Regions from separate parts of the Homo sapiens genome. Here region 2 is linked to region 1. Evidence: promoter capture Hi-C in human tissues and cell types (Jung and others, 2019). All regions are on one chromosome and are shown on one strand. Each heading gives the region's core, a stretch centred on a gene start or on the middle of the fragment in contact. The rest is flanking DNA. Distances are from core to core; before and after follow the strand shown.

Region 1 (3,541 bases), core at 689-3,188:
CCAGTCCAGGGGATGCTGAGAAACTGTGGGGCAGAGTAGGGGACACAAACAGGAAAAAGCAAGTTTGTTTCTAGTGTTATGCTCACAGGGTGGCAGGATATACCTGCTGAGCATTCCCAGAAGGTCCCCAAGGAAACCATTACTGTAAGTCTCTCACTTTCTTCTCTGCCTGATGGTTGGGGTGGGGAGAGGGAAGGAGGGCTATCAAGAGGGGGATGGGCACCCTTCCAGAGGTCAGAGTTATGATGCCCAGGAATAAAAGGTGTTGAATTCAGGATGGAATGTGAAGGTGAACAGCAAAGGGCTTGTCAACATGGGTTGTCACTGGATTACACCGGATGGATTAAGGTAGGGATGGGGGAAGGAGTAGAAGGTGAGTTGGGAGGGAGGGGCTTGTGTGGCACTGAGACCCCCAGCAGGGATGGGGAGAAGGGGTGTTGGCCACCTAAGCTTCCTGGTTTGATCCTTTTTTGGCTGGTTTCAGCTGGGGAAGTGAAGGGTCCTAAGGCTTGGATATGGAGAGGTGGGAATATGGAGAGGTGGGGATATGGAGAGGCGGGGATAAGGAGAGGTGGGGATAAGGAGAGTGGCCCCGCAGCTCCCCTGGTGAACCAGAATACTTTCTCAGGGTTGTTCCCAGGCTGGAGGGAGGGAATTTTAGGGGTACGTAAGGTGACTCCAAGGAGCCTTGGGTGCAAGTACTGGGGGATCCCAGAGACCCAGAAGATGGGGGTAGAAAGGAAGGTGTTTGCCTTCACGGGGAGTAGCCTCAAAATAAGAGGGACTGAGGGAAGTCATTCCAAATGCAGTGGGTAGGTAGTTTAGGCTCTTCCAATGGGATGGGGTGGAGCTTAGACCTCTGCAAAAGAAGGGGGTCATTCGGAGGGGACGGTGCACAGCTGAGGCGTTGGGCTCCTAAACTGGAAACAGGAGGCTCTAAGAGGCACTGCCTTTTCCTCCAGCCTCGGTGTGGTGGGGGTGGTGAGTGTCTGGAACCGGGTTTCCCGAATCAGGACAGGAGTCTGAATGGATCTCACAAAAACCGGCCAGGGAGGGAGAGAACCAGGGGAGACTCCTCACACCGGGAGGTGGGGGTGGCGGCAAACTGAGAACCCGGGCTTGGGGCGCGGGATTTTCTCAACAGACCATAGGGTCCACTAATGTGGACGGCAGGGATTTGGGGAAACTAAGGGGGACTCTCACTTTGGACACCAAGGGCTGAGGACGGATTGGGGAAGAGGATACGGTTTCTACTGGGGTGCTGATGGAGGTTCCCCACTCGGGACGCGAGGCACTGAGTGGGTCCCCCAAACTGGATATGGGATCCTGGGAACGGAGCGAGGGCTCTAAATTAGAGCCCTGGGGTGGGGGTGGGGGGCTGTAAATTAGGTTGGGAGGAAACTGGGGGCTCTGAGGGCGGCTTCTCGCTCCGACTGGGGAAATGGAGCATGTGGGGACTGGGGAGCACTAGGGCTATCTCCCGCCCGACCCGAGGAGATTGGGGTTCTCTTCAATTCTGGACAGCAGGGACCTGAGAGGGAAGACCGGGGGGGTTCCCGATCCGGAACCGAGCTACCTTGAAGGCACCGGGAAGCGCTTCATTCCGGGAGGGCGTTCCCGCGGCCGGGCCCCCGCGCCGGGGTGGGTGGGGGGTGCGGCCGCGCCCTGGTCCCGGCCCGCACCGGGATTCGGGGGTCTCGCTCGGCCCCGGAGACCCAGGAGCCCCGCGGGAAGGGGGTCCCGGCGCCGCCGCCTCCGCGGGCGCCCGGGCTCGCGGGCGAGCGCGGGGCTTTATGCGCGCAGGGCGGCGGGGGGAGGAGCCGGCAGGTCGGCCCCCGGCGGGCCCTCCCCTCGGCCGTCCCCGCCCGCCCGCCCGAGCGGGGTCGGGGGAGGGGGCAGCATGGCCTGTCCGTCCGGCCCCCTTCGCCGCGCTCCTCATCTGCCCCGCGCCGAGCGCCGCCGCCGCCGCCGCCGCCGCCGCTCCGCTGCCCGCGCCGCCCGCGGCTCCCGATGGAGACTGACGCGCCCCAGCCCGGCCTCGCCTCCCCGGACTCGCCGCACGACCCCTGGTACGGCCCGGCCCGGCCTGCTTGGCCCGCGCCCGCCCCGGCCCCGCCAACATGGCCGATCCGGGTCCGGCCGGGCCTCCCCGGAGCCCGGGCCCGCGCCCCCTGCGCCCTGGCGCCCGGCGCTCACGCGGGCCCTTTGTGTCTCTCCTCCTCCCGCAGCAAGATGTTCATCGGGGGACTCAGTTGGCAGACTACGCAGGGTGAGCGAGCCCGGGAGCGCCCGCCGGTCCGGCAGGGCACCCCGGACCCCCCGGCGCCCCGGACCCGGACACCCCAGCCCGGCCCTGCGCCCTGCTGACCCCGGGCGCCCTCGCGCCCTCTTTCGCGCCCCGCCCGGAGACCCCGAGAGCGCAGGGCGATCCGCGAGCGCACCCGGCCCAGCGGGTGGAGGGGAGCAGATGAGGGGTTCAGGGGGTATCGGGGGGTGGGCTGGGCCCCCGGGACCCGCCGGCGGCAGCGCCAACTCCGCTCGCACCTGCGGCTCAAACTTTTGTGAGGCTGCTCCCGGAGCGGCGGGAACCCGGCCGGAGCCGTCCCCCTTCCAGCCCAGCTCGGCCCTCGGCTTCCCGGGGCCCCGGTGGGCGCCAGGAGGCTCAGCGGGAACGGGGCGAGGGCGGTGGGGGGCGGCGGCAGTGGAGAACGCGCGGGCAGCTTGGCGCGGGGGCGGCCGGGCCGCTCCGGGGTCACCGGGGGCAAAGGACGGGGGGGGGGGAAGGGCGCGGGGCCCGGGCTGGTCCGAAGGCGGGTGTGTGGTTACAGAAGGGCTGCGCGAATACTTCGGCCAGTTCGGGGAGGTGAAGGAGTGTCTGGTGATGCGGGACCCCCTGACCAAGAGATCCAGGTGAGCCCCTCACCCCCTCCTCCTGCTCCCGGCTCGCCCCCCTCCACCCGCCACTCACTGCCTTGTAACCATCTGCCTCTCCCTCACTACGGCGCGCAGGGGTTTCGGCTTCGTCACTTTCATGGACCAGGCGGGGGTGGATAAAGTGCTGGCGCAATCGCGGCACGAGCTCGACTCCAAAACAGTGAGTGGCCCTCGGGGCTTCGGGGGTCCTTTGGGAGAGGGAGGCTGCCGGAGGAGAGGGTCAGGACTCTCCCCAGGGGACAGCTGGACGGGGTCCATGAGGAAGGAGGGAGTTTTTCTGAGTAAGAGGGCTGCCATGCTCTGAAACTTTGTCACTAGAGTTGGGGGGGAGAGGGAGGAGAAAAATCCCTGGCCTGCCATGAGATGCTACATCCCCCCTCCCCTAGTCCTGGTGAGGGGAGAGGCAGCCGCCACCCTCTCCCTAGAAGTACTAATCATGATGCCTCAGAGCAGAGCTTGGGGTGGGGCTAGGTCCCTCCCCCAGCCCAAATTGGGTGAGTCAGGGTAGCACTGACCCACCCGGTGGCTTCTGTGAACTCTAACTAGTATTTGGCTCTGCGACACCCCCTCTTCATCCAGACCAATGGCAAAGCATCCCTTGAAGCCC
Region 2 (3,541 bases), core at 679-3,178, 1.0 Mb before region 1:
CAGAAATCTACAGATGAGCATACCCACAATTAAACAATTTCAATATAAATCAACATTAAGTTAAATAATAAACATTTAACAGCCCAAATCCTCAATGGTGTAAATCCAGTTTCACAAAAACAAAAGCATCATTTATAACTGTCATCTGGCACAGGCTGATGTCTATTCAGGTCCATATTTTGCTTCTGAAAATACGTATCTTTTCTATAATTTCAATTGCCACCAAACTTTGTTTCTAAAATTTCATCTTAGAAAGTAGTACCTTCCACTTCAATTCAAAACACACGTCTGTTTTCAAAGAACTTGTTTAAAAATTTCAACACTGGACCTGTCTCTAATTCTTTCCTTCGATAGCTAGTTCCTTAATGGGCCACAAATTTAATATTAATAAAGATACTGATTCTTCGAGGCATTATATATAAAGATCCCTGCTTTGTTTTTGGATCTTAACACAGCAGAGGGTGGTTTTCAGGAAATAAAGCTACTTCTAGATACTTTAATAGATATTTCAAGCTGTAATAATATTTTATAACTAAACTGGAAAGTTAAAAATAAGCTTTTACAATATCCTCATACTTCAAGGCACAGTTCCAAAGTTACCTATTCCAAAAATATTCCTTGCTTTCTGTAGCCAGAAGTATCCTTTCTGGCTCCTGTGTTTTGTCCCTGCCTTTTTTTTTTTTTTTTTTTTGATACCTATAGCCTTCTGCCTTGTAATATGGTTACTTACAAATAACTCTTCTTTTGAATGGTAAACTGCCTTCCTAAGGGATGAGACTGTATTTTGAATTACTTCTCTTCACCATGTCTCCCTCTTGGCTAACGCACAGAAAACGTTCAACAAAACATGTGCTGAATTTCTGTGACCAGCTGACACTCTTTTTCAATCTTCTATAGTAAATCTTTGACGCTTTATGGAGACAGCGTTAATCTAGCAGCTCACCTGCTAGATTACCCACCCCCAGCACACCTCTGCACTGAGATTAACGAAACCATCTAGGTCTGAAAGTTATCATCACCTTATGACTCATCCCACTTGGTTTGAGTTCGGCAAATGAATCAATACCCTGAACTGACTGCTGTTCACAAAGCTCTTCAGAACTCTCAGTGATCGGGTTGAGAATCATCTCTCAGAAGTAGGCCGGAAACCCCGCTCCCCTTTCCCCTTTTCTTCAACTTCTCATCAGTAATGCTCCCACGCTCTCACTCCCACCTTGGAGAACTCAAGCTGCCAAATTCCTTGCTGCGTTTACCTAGTGGCGATGGAGGCACATCCAGCCTTCTCTAGTTCGCGGCCCCGACGTGCAGCCTACGAAGCACCCCTTCCGGGTGGCATCCCCACCCTGAGAGTTCTTTAACCCGTTAGCCTGGCCCTAGCCTCACCACCCCCTGCACCCCTCCTGTTCTCCTCGGTCCCACGATGTCCCCAACACTTGGGTTAGTTCAAGGACTCGGGGCGGGAAAGGGCACGCCGCGCGCCAAGGGACCGAGGCTCAGGCGAGCCCTGGCGGCTCTGCCTCAGGCCCCCGAGGAGGCGCACAGGGCCCGGCGCAGAGAGGGGCCCACCCGGCGCGAACGCTAGGGACGCCCGGCTTCTCCCCACCGCTCGGGTCGCTGACGGGGGTGGCACTGGAGGAGCTCGAGAGGGTCCGGCAGCCTGCCCTGGCTCGGTTGGGGCACCTGAAGCCGGGCAAGCGACCCCCCTCAGCGCAGCTCTCCGAGATGACGACTAGGTAACCGCTAAGGCGGAAAGAAAGGAGGCGCTTCAGGTGCCCTGGCAGGATAGGATTGGCGAGGAGGGTCTGTCCGGCTCCACCGGCCCCTCACCTTCATGGCCGCGACCGCCTCAGCTCGGCCGGCTCTACCAGGAAACTCAGCACCATAGCAGCTCCTCACACTGCCGACCTCCTTCCCTCTGGGCGGTGATTACCGCGCCCCGGGAGGCGACCGAGCGTCCGGACGTAAGGGGCGTGGTCACGCTCGCCGCGTGCCCCGGTAAAAGCGCAGAGCGGCGGCCACGACGACCAATAGGAAGCCGACTTTCGGGAGGCCGGTCACCAGAGCCAATGAAGCGACAGGGATTGGGCGGGGCCTCTGGCGTTCCTCCTGGCTGGGAGTGCGCGGGGAGGATTCTTTTCCGCCCCGAGCGAAGACCTGCGGACCTGGGCGTGGCGGAAGGCGCGCTGCGGCGCTGCTTTCTCGGTTGGGTGTTTGAAATGGGAGATAGCGTCCCTGAGGAAGCTGCTGCGGCTTTCTGGGCTAGGTGGTCAAGTTTCCGGGGAGGGGAGCGCGGGAAGGGCCGTGGTGAATTTGAACACGCCGGTTGGCTCGAAGGCCTTTGTTATGACCGTCAGAGCAGGGCCTCAGATTTCCTTCCCAGACGTTCCCGCGTTCATGCTCGGTGATGACCTCGGGGCTCCTCACTCGTGGGTCCGGTAAGGAGCGGCAGCTGCACTCGCTAGGACGCGGCCTTTAAAAACAAGACTTATTGAAAACACTTAGAAAACCAAGGGCTCTCAAATCCCAAGGGCTCTTTGAAAAGCTGTATTCAAAATAACCAAAATCGTAGCATAATAAAAGAATTTGCTCGAGTCTTGGAATTGCCTTTGGACAGAGAAACTGAGGTTGTAAATTAAGGTATCGATTTCTTCAGCTGTACTGGATGACAGTTTATTTTCCTACACCTTTTTTTTATTTTTGACAAGGTCTTGCTCTTGCCCAGGCTGGAGTGCAATAGTGTGATCTCGGCTCACTGCAACCTCCGTCTCCCGGGTTCAAAGGATTCTCCTGCCTCAGCCTCCCTAGTAGCTGGGACTTCGTGCGCCCGCCCCACACCCGGCTAATTTTTTCTATTTTTAGTAGAGACTGGTTTTCACTGTGTTGGCCAGGCTGGTCTAGAACTCCTGGCCTCAGGTGAGCCGCCCACCTCGGCCTTCCAAAGTGCTGAGATTAGCCACCGGGCCCAGCCGATTTTCCTACACTTTTTAATCTCACCTCTAACTTAACCAGTATTTAAGATTTTAAACATAAAAAAGTCAGTTCGCTCTTCATGAGGACCTAAGACTGTTCTGTTATTTATATACATTATAGATTTGCTTCGACAAGTTGTGCTATATTAGATTAAAACACACGGAGAGAGAGAGAGTGCGTGGCAGGCCACTTCCTTAGACTGAAATAATGCATCAGAGTATGTATTTCTCTTGCTTCAAGTGCTGCTCAGATAATGTCACTTCTTATCCATAATAGTCCTAGGTTTTTTTTGGAAAAATGTACAGAAAGCCTTTCATTCACGATGTAGGACGCAGCTGAGCTTCATTGGAAGAGAAAGTATTAATTAATTCTCCTAATGATCTAGACACAAAGCAACTCAATAAAAATGTTCTTGGGGTACAAAGCCATGGTTGTCCCTCATTAGAAAAGGCCTGGCAGGTCTACCTCCAGAGTTAATAAGCACATGAAAGATGCTCAACATCATTAACTATCAAGGAAATGCACATCAAATCCATGGATACCGCTGTGCGCCTGCAAGGATGGGTAACAT

What was found. Contacts are between HindIII fragments. The study calls those that stand out against the background at their distance.
Region 2: the fragment with the promoter of RNF34 here is called in contact with the fragment with the promoter of MSI1 in region 1 in 1 of the 25 tissues and cell types used here (dorsolateral prefrontal cortex).

Annotation. Positions count from the first base shown.
Region 1 is chr12:120,367,561-120,371,101 of GRCh38, reverse strand. It overlaps MSI1 (musashi RNA binding protein 1), which reads left to right and starts at 1,938. Exons shown (of 15, transcript NM_002442.4): 1 at 1,938-2,069; 2 at 2,229-2,269; 3 at 2,829-2,910; 4 at 3,010-3,094. The coding sequence starts at 2,011. The HindIII fragment of the contact is 19,353 bases long and covers 1-3,541 here.
Region 2 is chr12:121,398,505-121,402,045 of GRCh38, reverse strand. RNF34 (ring finger protein 34) reads right to left here and starts at 1,928. Exons shown (of 6, transcript NM_025126.4): 1 at 1,828-1,928. The coding sequence starts at 1,833. RefSeq lists enhancers at 757-1,288, 1,289-1,820, 2,306-2,385. The HindIII fragment of the contact is 20,899 bases long and covers 1-3,541 here.